Linked DNA regions of Homo sapiens: region 2 is linked to region 1. The links are contacts of gene promoters, found by promoter capture Hi-C in blood cells and fetal thymus (Javierre and others, 2016). All regions are on one chromosome and are shown on one strand. Each heading gives the region's core, a stretch centred on a gene start or on the middle of the fragment in contact. The rest is flanking DNA. Distances are from core to core; before and after follow the strand shown.

What was found. The method cuts DNA at HindIII sites, captures the fragments that hold promoters and counts their contacts. A CHiCAGO score of 5 or more calls a contact.
Region 2: a fragment that was not itself captured here is called in contact with the fragment with the promoter of NPVF in region 1 in 1 of 17 cell types (M2 macrophages); the score reaches 5.0 in M2 macrophages.

Annotation. Positions count from the first base shown.
Region 1 is chr7:25,224,742-25,230,737 of GRCh38, forward strand. It overlaps NPVF (neuropeptide VF precursor), which reads right to left and starts at 3,745. Exons shown (of 3, transcript NM_022150.3): 1 at 3,561-3,745; 2 at 1,885-2,285; 3 at 1-432. The coding sequence starts at 3,698. The coding sequence ends at 381. The HindIII fragment of the contact is 394 bases long and covers 3,644-4,037 here.
Region 2 is chr7:25,832,332-25,838,327 of GRCh38, forward strand. It overlaps LOC100506236 (a long non-coding RNA gene), which reads right to left and starts at 753. Exons shown (of 3, transcript XR_108752.5): 1 at 579-753. The HindIII fragment of the contact is 3,501 bases long and covers 1,733-5,233 here.

The sequences.
Region 1 (5,996 bases), core at 2,495-4,994:
GGCATACTATTTAATTTCCATCATAATGTTTTTCAGGGTGCTCTTCTGTTTAATTTTTTTTATTAAGTGTAACTGTGCCAATGATTTTTATATAGGGTAGTGAGGAGGGTCCTCTGTCTCTCTCTCCATTATCAGAGATTTCTAAAGCATTTGCAATGCTTTTTTTTTATTCAGACAAAAATCATTTTAACTTTACGTAACAAATATGCTTTAATTTTTTTACAACTTTCAAGATACTATTATAGCTGTACTGACAAGGAAAAATTGCCGTTGATGATCCATAGCTGATGAAGTGTATGTAGCTACTCTTCCGTGTGGTCTTCGCTATAGAGCCATTTGTAGATTACAGGCCACAGCTTTAGGGACAGGCTCCAGGTTTCTTATTTTTCTTGTTTCAATTCTGCATCATCTATTTTCTTGAATAGCAGTCTCCTAAAATGTAAGCAGTATAAAATGTTGTCACCCATCAGAACAACAGCATGCAAGTGTGTATACAAATACAAGCCATAGTCCTAACTGCCTAATTATACTTGAGTTGAATTGTGTTGCACTTGAAATGAGTGAGATATTGGGGGGATGCTGAATCTGTGATGGGCACTCAGTCCCAAACACTTATCATTGATTCATCTCTCTCCCTCCACACCGCCCCACTCCCAACATCTGATTAGCTGTCAATTCTGCCTCTGTATAACATCCCACAACCTCAGCAGAAATGTCAGTGGTTCTCCCTCTCCTGATGAATGACGCCCCAAGTCCTTGTCCGGGTCCTCAATATCTGCGCTCTCTGCTCTTACTCTAACGGTCTAGACTTCTTTCCTCTCTTCTTCACATCCTTTTTGCTCTTGCCAAAGGGCGCCTCGGCTGTTCTTGGCTCACCTTGCTTTAGTGCCTAAAAATGACCTCCCTCTTCTCACCAGTCTCCGAATGTTCAAGAGAAAGCTGCTTTTGAAAGGCAGGTTTCCACATACAGAAACACTCTCTTTTTTTCTGACCCTCTGCAGGACCTTATTAGTGCCTCTCTTATTTCATTCATCCCGTCAGATATTGAGGGCTTACTATGTGGTAGACACAGTTCTTAGGCTCTGGGCATATGGCAGTGGACAAAAATTATGGGATTTGTAGGACTGAAATTCTAATAAAGGCAATGAACCCTAAATATATGTCAGATGGGATAAGTACCATGGAAAAGAACAAACCTGGAGTGTCCTGAGAAGGTCTCTCAGATAAGGTGACACAATCTGCCACTGTACTTTCTTCAGGTCTTAACTAAAGCATCATGTTCTACTTCATATAAAAAAAATTTTTTTTAAGCATACGCTCTCTACTATAAAAGAACAGGTAGGTAGGTTATTAATTTTTAAATCTTACATTCTGATGTGTACATAGGAGATAATACATATTTCTTAATATAAATAATGATTATAACAGAGTTTATAAGATGAGATCCAGATAAAAGAAAACACTTTGATTAAAAGTTAGGAAAGAAAACCTGCTGCATTTGAGACCTAGATTATTGAGATGGGGTCCTTTGCACCTGAACAACTCTCTCCCATGAGACTTTTTATGTGGGAGAGGTCCAGCGTTTAGACAATATACTGTCATTGCATGGACTTAGTGAGCAGCTATAGGATAAGGAGATTGATGCTTATATGTGGCTTAGGGGAAGCCATCCTATGATTTTATACCTTGAGCCATGCTTATTATACCTGGCCTTCTATAGTTCCCAATTTACAGGTATTTAGTTCCTTGTGTCTTTGCCTCTCTCTCCTGCTAGGAAACTTACTGTCTTAGAAACTTATGTTGAAAAGATGTAGTCATTTTTAAAGTTTCTAGACCACCTCTATATAACTGCCCATGCACTTTGACTGGTTTCCAGGTATTTACCTTGACTGTTTTTGATCGGGATTCTGGATTTCTTGGTGCTGGCAGGTCATGGAGTAAAATAAGTCATTGGCACATGGTGAATGCATGGATCCTTGACACAAATCACTCAGCATCCTGCAGACACTTTTGGCTGTTGTTGTTCTCCCAAACCTTTGGGGCAGGTTAGGAACACGTCTCACGAGGCTCACCTCCATATTTCTTCCAGATCTCAGAGGCAGGTTGGCTGTTGCTCCAGCACTTCTTTCTTCTTGAACGTTCCTCCCAAATCTCAATGGCAAGTTGGCGAAGGAGTGTGGCATTTTATTGACTGCAGGTGTACTCATCTTAATAACATTTTTTGGTCCCCAATCTTTTAATTCCTCAAAATTGAGGCTTCTTTCCCCTTTTGGGTATCCTCTAGGCTATAATTAGAAATGACCATTACAATAACATACTGTTGTTATAAGCAACAGATTTAAACCCCCAATTAACTTAAATCTAGACTTTAATCTGCAGAATTGTTAAAGCTATAAACAAAGTTTGTGTTCATATGTGCAGAATTTTTAAATGATTTGTATTAAGCTTTTTAAAGCAATATAGTTTCTCTGTCCCTAGACTATTGTAAGACAACCATAAAATATTTATAAAATATATATAGTGAATACAGCAATGAGTTCAAGCAGCAGGAACATAATGAAGTACTGAAATGTGGCAAAAGTTTATTTTACTGCAGTTATTCTCTTTTGGTTTTTTTGATTCATGTTGCTTATGGAATATTTTATATATTTTTATAATTTGATTTTAGAGAAACCTCCCACTCATTTTTCATGTTTCTCTTTAAAGGCCAAAGTGGCACATGGAAACACGGTACATCAAAACAGAGATGCTGGCCAGGTTTTGGGGTATAGTTGTAGAAGGCCCAGTGGATTTCTTTTTTATTCTATCTTACTCAGGGTACCACTCTAAAGCTTTCTCAAGAAACCAATTGCATTTTTATTAGAATATAAAATACATTTTTAGCAAAGAACTCATTGGTTTATGGGTTACTGCATCACAAGTATGCCAACTTTGTAGGAACCATCTCAAATACAGAGAATATTTAATTAGATTTAGTCTTTACCATAGGAGCTTGTCCATATGGAAATTTTTAAATGATTGTTTTCTGATTATCCCTTGAGTAAAATGAGTATACACGCTAATTTCATCAGATTTGGAAAACACATAAAAGAAAATAAAAACAATTTGCAATTTTACCATCTACAGGTAAACACTTTACTAAGATATAGATTTAGTACACATTGGCCAGTTTGTAATTGCTAAGCCCAAAAGAAATGTGTTTTTTGTTTGTTTGTTTGTAGTTTAAAACAATTTGAATGTCCAGCTGAAATGTACCCAAATCTTATTTCTGCCAACCATTTATTACAAATATGCACTTGTGAGTTGATTGAAAATTATTAATGCGCTGTATGCTTGCTAAGTACCATACTCACCAGTACAATTGTCATGACAGAGGCCAGCCTGATTGCTGTCGTGCTAAATAAACAAGTGACATTTATACATTGTCAGAGGAAGGCTGAAATTTCACAAAAAAACAGAGTACACACCAACTTACTTCTTAGTCTTTACAAAATCATTAGACTTAGGATTAATATTATGTAATTAATGCTACTCACATTAGAGAGATTTAAAAAACTTACCTCAGAATATTTGTCATAATTTTCTTTGCTGTGAAGATTGGACATCACTAATTCATCTGCACAAAAAATGTTTGATGTTAACAAGCTTGAAGTGGCTAAAGTCAATAAAATGAATAGTTTTGATGAAATAATTTCCATTTTGTCTAAATCTAAAATTAAGTCTCTATGTGCAGCCCAATGTTTATGAGAGGAGAAAAAAATTGTGGTGTTTTTATATCGTCTAAAAACAAAGGAAAGTTTTTTTTAAACAGTGAAATCAATCTCACACATTTTAAGTACTAATATTAATTAGAGTGTACAACTAAAATATGCATGTAAGGAATGTGAATAATTCATTCTGGGAAGACAGCAATGTTTGTGCTTGCAAATTCATTAACTTTGAAAATAATTTTCCTCATTATAAAAGAGCTTCTAATTAGGTAAGTTTGGGGGGATAGTAATTAAGATTCCAAACAGACAGAATGCTTCATTTCTCTAAGCTTAAACAAAAAGTATTTTGTTTTTGGTGTTTGTGTCAATTCTTGAGGGAAGGAAAAGGAAGTATTCAATCCATGCTAGCTATGTTTTTTTTTTTTTAATCTGCACAAAAGAGTTAGGCGTAGTATTTTCAAAATGTCAAGCAAAATTAAGAATGTGAAAAAAATTATAATATCCCAACAAAATGCCATGAATTAGTTTTTTTGTAAAATGCTGTTTGGTTATTAAAAAGCTTCAGGGGTCAATGTTAGCCGTAACATGAAGGATGTGTATATGAGCAAATACTTGATAGGCATTTTGACAAACTGGCGTCTCAGGAGAAGCTGGAGGCAGTCAGGCCCTCTGTATTTGCTCTATGGGTCTTATTTGGTAAAGCTGTGTCAATCACCAAAACTTTCTATCAAGATGCTGCATCCTACCTTCCCTCTCAAAGTCCTTAGGGAGACTAGCAGGGGCTTGGTAAGTCATACACATGCTAACTCTATTGGTCCCAGGACGCATATTATTTAGGTAATCGCGTATTGCCAAAGGTGTGCTGTCATCATGACATTAAAAGAGAATTTACAGAAATAAATGCGCATTTACTGAAATGCCAAAGCGAATCTCTTTTGGAGCAGCTGACTGTTCTTAAATATCTGCCTTATCACTAGACTGCCTGGGTTCTAGAGACACCTTTACTTGTTCCCACCAGTCCCTTCAGCCCTTTCAGGAGAAAAAGACTTGCATGGATTTCCTACAGTCCAGCTACTTCTAGACACAGACAGTTAGAGGTAATTCACAAAGAGTTGTAAAATTGCTCTGTTGTGTCTAGAACTGTGCCACCTCTCACCTCTCTCACCAACCTACCGTATGTAATTTGAGACGTGAGATGGCAGAAGTGAAGATCTTTCTTCATATTGATCTCCAGAACAAGCCAGAAAGTTGAAAAACCACAGTGGGTGAACTCTTGTGATACAAACTTGCCTATGGTCTCTCTTAAGGCATTTGACATCATTGGCTTCATTTGTTTTGGTTTGTAGTAGCCAAGAACCCCACAGTAGGAGGCAATTAATTCAATTCATAGTCTATCGTTAATTTTGTAATGCCATTATTGGATTATTTGGGTTTAATTTCCCTGAGGATTTAATACATTTCTCTTCCAAATTGTTCTTTTGCAAACTGCTGATGGAATTTCTTTGTGTGTGTGTGTGTGTGTGTGTGTGTGTGTGTGTGTATGTATGTGTGTGTAGTCAGTAGATCCAAACTTTTGAGAAATGAATGAATCAAGGGGCAAGTTTTGTTGACTGAATTCACACCCCAGAAAAAGCAGAAGGCATCAGCCTGAGTCTTTTTCAAAATGTATTTTTATCTAGTTGTCATTTTCAGATAAAATGCAAATTAAGCAGCTCACCAGTTTTCAGTGCTGCTACTAATGGGTGTTGGCAGATCCATTAGAATTTTCCTGATGACAATCAGCATACACATATGACTTAATTGCTCCCTGCCTCCACCAGGTTAGGACTCCACGTTTGGAAGGTAATTAGAATTATCTTATTAATATGGGGCTTGGGCCAGGCACGTGGCTCATGTCTGTAATCCCAGCACTTTGGGAGGCTGAGGCTGGCAGATCACCTGAGGTCAGGAGTTCAAGACCAGCCTGGCCAACATGCTGAAACTCCATCTCTACTAAAAATACAAAAATTAGCCAGGAATGGTGGCACATGCCTGTAATCCCAGCTACTCAGGAGGCTGAGGCAGGAGAATCGCTTGAATCCAGGAGGTGGAGGTTGCCGTGAGCTGAGATCACACCATTGCACTCCAGCCTGGATGACAGAGCGAGACTCTGTCTCAATAAAAACAACCAACCAACAAACAAACAACAACAAAAAAAAAACGGGTCTTGGCTCTTTTCAATTATATCTTCATTTAACTTTGAAAGTGTTAACAGATATAGAACATACAAAGTATGAAATCACCATA
Region 2 (5,996 bases), core at 2,233-4,732, 610 kb after region 1:
TGTTTGTTTACATAGGAAATGTACTCTTTCTTAACATTCACTGTTTCAACATCCACTTAGATAGCTTCATTAAAAAATGGGTTAAAAAATAAAGAAGGGTGGCAAGAAAAGGAAAAAAAATACATCTTTCTATTTCAACCAAAAATTTGGTTCAGAACAAACTTGGAAAATCAGAGGATGTTTTTCTTTTCATCGCTGAAACAATGCTCTGCTTGTTCTCCCCGGGCAATGAGAACTACCCGGGCTTGGATCAGTGGGTCACATTGTGCAAAGTGTTTTTCCTGTTTAAACTATGTGCTTTCTTAAATGTTATCTTTTTGGAAGAAAATTAGATAACCTTATGTCCCCAGACTATATCGTATTTGTTTGAATAGGAAATGCTAATATTTTTCTACATGTTTCGTATCGGTGTCAGTGGAAACTCAGTTTGGTGGTTAAGACAGGCCCCTCTAAGCTCTGGGAATCACATTGGCTATCTTCCAGAAGCCAAGAGGTTCACGGTGATTTTGAATAATCATCTCCATAGCTATGTGAAGTATCTATATTACTTAGCCAGAAGAAAACAAAATTATATTTACCTTTTCTGTATTTAATTAATTTATCTTTAAATATGTCATTTGATGAGATTTTCCTTCTTAATTTCTCTTCTCTTTACCTCCACCTCCTGTGTTACTTCTGCTTTCTACTCAGTCCTACCAATCAACTCCCCAAACTTCCTGCAACCTCTACTTAAAGATCATGCTTAATTAGTCATTATACCCAAGGATCTCTGCCCCATCCATCTGTTTCTGCATTCCCATTGGTCTAAGCCAATGCCTGTTACATCACAGCCCCACCCCTGCCCATGACTAGAGGCTCCCCCTTCCCACATGTCCCCAGTTGTGTTCAGGCCCCTTTATCTGACATTCTTGGAAGCAGAAATAGCAGCAGAAACACATTTCTGAAACAACAGACTCCCCACGCGAACAAGGTCTCTACTAAGACACATCAACCAAGTCCTCTGAAAGCAGCACTGCCCTATCTAAATTTTTTTAAAGTGAAGCTTGTCATTTGCACTTCAATCTCCATTTTTCAGTACCTTCTCTTCAAACACACGTGTTTACGTACTTAATACCATCTTGCTTCCCCATATGAAAATCTGCTCCCAGAAAATCTAGCGTCAGGCATGTATAACTTAATGCAAATTTAAGTTGGTGTGTTCCTTCTCCCAAGGGTACCTCAATTCTAAGCCCTGTATCTAACTAAAGAATGAAGATGTGTCCCCTCTTGATCATGTTTTAGCCGTCGGTGCTCAGATGGGAGAGATGGCACTTTCGACAATAAGACACACTCTTTCATGACTTTATTGTCACAAAAACATACCACGCAAGTGCTTTTCTGCTCCACTAGAACAAGAAAGGCCTCCTAAAAACCCTAAGTGTCTGTTTAAACTCAAAGCTTTAAACCTGAGACCCTTCCACCCTAAATGATAACACTGCTCTCCTGTTGCTCTATAATCAAACCAATAGCCTTAACTCTATATCTGGCAAATACAAGCAAGTAGCAATCATGCCCTCTGTTAAGTAAAGCACAAAAACAACAATGAGCAGAGGTGGGCTCATTGTAAGCCATGAACCTTAAGTCTCGGGGCCCTTCGCTTGCACAGGCCCCTTCCCAAACCCTAGGCAGGGGACCTAGCAATTTTGTATGCGTGATTTTACATTCTTTTTAAAGAAGGCCCCAAAATTGTATAAGCTTCAGGCCACATACAGCTTTTAGATCCACCCTGTTAGGGACTGAATTGTGTTCCCCAAAAATTCCTATGTTGAAGACTTAACTACCAATGTAACTGTATTTGGAAAAATAGGGCCTTCAAAGAGTTAACTGAAGTTAAATGAGGTCATAAGGGTGGAACCCTCATCCAATATGACTGTTATCCTTATAAAAAGAGGAAGAGACACTAGGGCTTCATGCACACAGAGAAAAGCCGCCATCTGCAAGCCGAGGAGTGAGGTCTCAGAAGAAATTAAACCTGTCTACACCTCAATCTCGGACTTCAAGCCTCCCGAACTAGCAGACAATCAATTTCTATTGTTTAAGCCACCCAGTCTGCAGAATTCTCTTATGGCAGAATCCACACCCCTAGAAATTAGATACCATTTTTTAACTTTTCACTATAAAATTTTCTTAATGTTAACATTCAGTTTAACACTGAAGTATAGTGAAATAGGTAATCAAACATACATTGCTGACAGGACATGATTCAACACAACTTTTTGGAAAGCAAATATTAAAAGACATAAAAATACTCGTTTTCATTACCCCAAGAATTCTTCTGGGACTCTATCCTGACCAAATAACTCAAAATATTTTAAAAACTATATACACAAAGAAGTACATTAAAGTATTATTTACAATACTTGCCCATAACTGGAAGCTCCCCCTTCCCATGAATTACAAGTTGTGTGGGCCTTGGGTTTGTGGAGGAATCTGCCAGGGACTTTTAAAGATTCCCAAATTTGACTGTACATCTATATATGAAATTGTGTTGGTTTATTTGCAAAAATGGTTCCAATAATTCTTTCCATTCCTGTCTGCATGCCCCTCTGCCCTGTGATATTTCTGCCCCACCCATCAAGAAATAGAGTCTCTTTTTTCATCCTTTGATCTGGGTTTGGCCATATGACTTGCTTTGGCCTGCAGAATATTAGCAAATATGATGCAAGCAAAAAAGGCTTGAAAAACGCTTGCACATAAATCTTGTTTTCTCTTTCTGCACCTGAAACCATGAGACCTTAAGGCAAATAAGCCCAAGATAGGGCTATGATGCTAGAGAGGAAACATACTGAAAAGCCAAGGCACTGGCCAACAGCCTGCCAACCCAACTATGTGATTGAGTCCATGCTAGACCATCTAGCTCCAGCCGAGTCTGCCCGGGCCAGAACTCTCCCAGCCATCTCAGCCAGCCACAGAATAACGCACTAAATAATAAATGTTTGTGGTTTTAGGCCTCTAAAATGTGGATGGTTTGTTATGCAGCAAAAATTAACTAATACAATAATTTCCCCCTGTAAAATGCTTGTGGGACAAATTGAGAATAGGCAAACTATGTTAATATCTTTATACTGAGTAAGCAGTTGGTGTTCTAGCTGGTGAGCTCCTGAGTTCCAGTCTTGCGACTCACATTCCCCCAATGCTTCAGTAAAATTACTAATTACCACATTCCATGGACCTCTGGATTGCCTGAGAATACCTGAAATCTTGAACGATAAATCTGCATATGCTTATAGTCTGGTTTAGTTTAAAACTGGAAATAGGCAGAAAGCTCTACATTACACACTTCCCTTTCATTAAGCCACTTAAAATTATGGCTATGAAGACAATGTAGAAACATGGGGAATATATTAATGCAATATTAAATGAGAAGAACAAGATAAAACACTGTCCTTAAATTATTATTATAAATATGTAAAGAAAAATAGCTAAATAGTTACAATGAGGAAAAAGACTATAAATAATTGTGCCAAAACACATTAGAAGCTGCTTTAGGATGTTAGATTATGGGTAAGCAGTATTTTATTTTATATATTTGCTGTAATATTACCTTCATAATTAATTATATTCGTAAGTTTAAAAAATTAATATATAATAATTTTAAAAATTAAAACCTGGATATGGGTATAGCCCGTCTGTTTGCTGTATAATTTTTAACCATACAGACTCTCTCTGCTAGTTTAAAACCATAATTTCCCAGAATACGAAATGAAGTTTTTATTTATTTGGATCTTACTAATATTACACTGGAATTTTACATAAATCTGTTTAGAATCAATTTAAACTACTTTAAAGACCAGGACCTGCCCAATTTCACTAAGTTAATAATTATTAAAGCCTCATGGGTGAGGCCTTGTTTGATTCAAATGTAAGCTGAGGGCCGAGGCAAAAATCATGTTGCCACGTTTTTAGGCCATAACTATACTGAAAAATAGCTCTAGACCCAGTTACCTATCTTGGAATGAGCAGATCTTATTCTCCTGAAAAAATGCTGTATACGACCAAAACTTTTGTTAACTAGTATGGATTTATACCCACAGCCAGGAAGGCATTATGAGAGAAAACAATAATAAAATCAGACAGTTTGAGTGCTTTTCTGTGGCTCCCCCTTGGACAATCTCTTTAAAAACAGCAATTCCTTTGACTTTTGACCTCAGCAATCTCCTATTTTTGAGCCAGTCTTCCCCCATCTCACATCCATCATTGTAAAATATGTCAAAATGAGTGAAAACATGGATTTCATCTCCAAGAAGTTTTCTTGTGAAACTTAAACAGAAAAGATTCTAGTCCATACGGGCTCCAGCCTCCCCCAACTATCACCATAGACTTCCCACATCACTGCAGTCAGCTTAACGTAAATTCTTAGGAGAACCATGTCAGTCTCTGTTAATAAACATGGTTCCAGCACACAAATTCAATTGCATTATGAAATCTAATATGTCAAATGGCAAAACCATAACACACAAAGTTCATGTAATCAGAATATTAAACAACTGTCACTCAGTTGTAATACTTTCAATTCCGCAACAGCAAATGGCTCCATTAATAAGTAAAGCAGCAGGATTCAAATGGCTTTCTGCTCTTATCCGCCTGGGGCTCCACCACCACACCAAGGTGGTTTTAGGAGTCAAACTTGATTCCAGGAAAAGATCTGCCCTGAAAAAAAGGGGAAAGAAACTAACCCTATAACATTTCAAGCCAGAAGTGTAACCATTTGCCAATTGCCTTCTTTTACTCGCCAGATACTGTACCTCTGCCCAGTTGAGTGTCAAGTCTTTAAGACTGCAGAGGTGAACTGGAACCCTTCAATATGAGACTTGTTCTGTACACCATGTCCACAGCAGCACTATTCACAATACCCAAAACGTGAAAACAATCCAAGTGGACATAGATCAACAGATGAATGGATAAGCAAAACCTGGCACGTTCATACAATGGAATACTATCCCAGTGAAACATTACTCAGTCTTAAAAAGGAACGAAGTTCTGACTTTTTTGGATCTTACTAATATTGCACTGGAATTTTGCATAAATCTTTTTAAGCCCAATTTAAACCACCTATGAGCCCAAAACAAGTCTAACCTCACTAAATTATAAATTGTTGAAGCATCCTGGATGAGGCTTAATTTGATTCAGATCTAAGCTAAGTGCAGAGCCAAAAATCACATTCCCACCTTTTTAAGTGCAATAACATGGATGAAGCTTGAAGACATTAGGTTAAGAGAAATAAACAAGACACAAAAGGACAATATTGTATGATTCTGCTTATATAAGATACGTAGACTAGGCAAATTCATAAAGACAGAAAGTAGAATAAAGGCTACCAGGGTCTGAGGGTAAGGGGGAATGGAGAGTTTTTATTAATGGGTACAGAGCTCCAGTATGAAATAAAAAATTCTGGAAATTTATAGTGGTGATGGTTGTATAACACTATGAATGTACACTTAAAATGGCTAAAATGGCCACTTTTATGTTATATATATTTTATAATTAAAAATTAGAAAAATAAGGCTTGAAAGATCAAACATTTGGGATAAAAAGAACTGCAACTTAAACTATACTGTGTAGCACACTTCTATCCTTCTGCAATACTTTCTTCATCTTTTCTGTCTTCATTAGCAGAACCTCTTGAAGACTCCACATAGTATCTCTTATTTTGCAAATAAGAAGACTAAGACTTGTAATAAATTGTTCAAGTGTACCCCCAGATTGGCACTAGAATGTGGATGCCCTGGTTTCCATCCTTTTAGCCAATGACCTGTATCCCCTAACTTCAAGGTTATGAGACACTTACCTTATGCTATAAAGAAAGAATATGTGTTCCTAATTTAAATTTTATTTCTCTGCTTTCCATGTAGCCAAAGTCCACAGAGTGAAGGCACCCTGCCATGCACATATCAAATGCTCAGTAAGCAATTTTTCATCATCATTAAAAGCAATTTATTACTCACATATCTGTTACC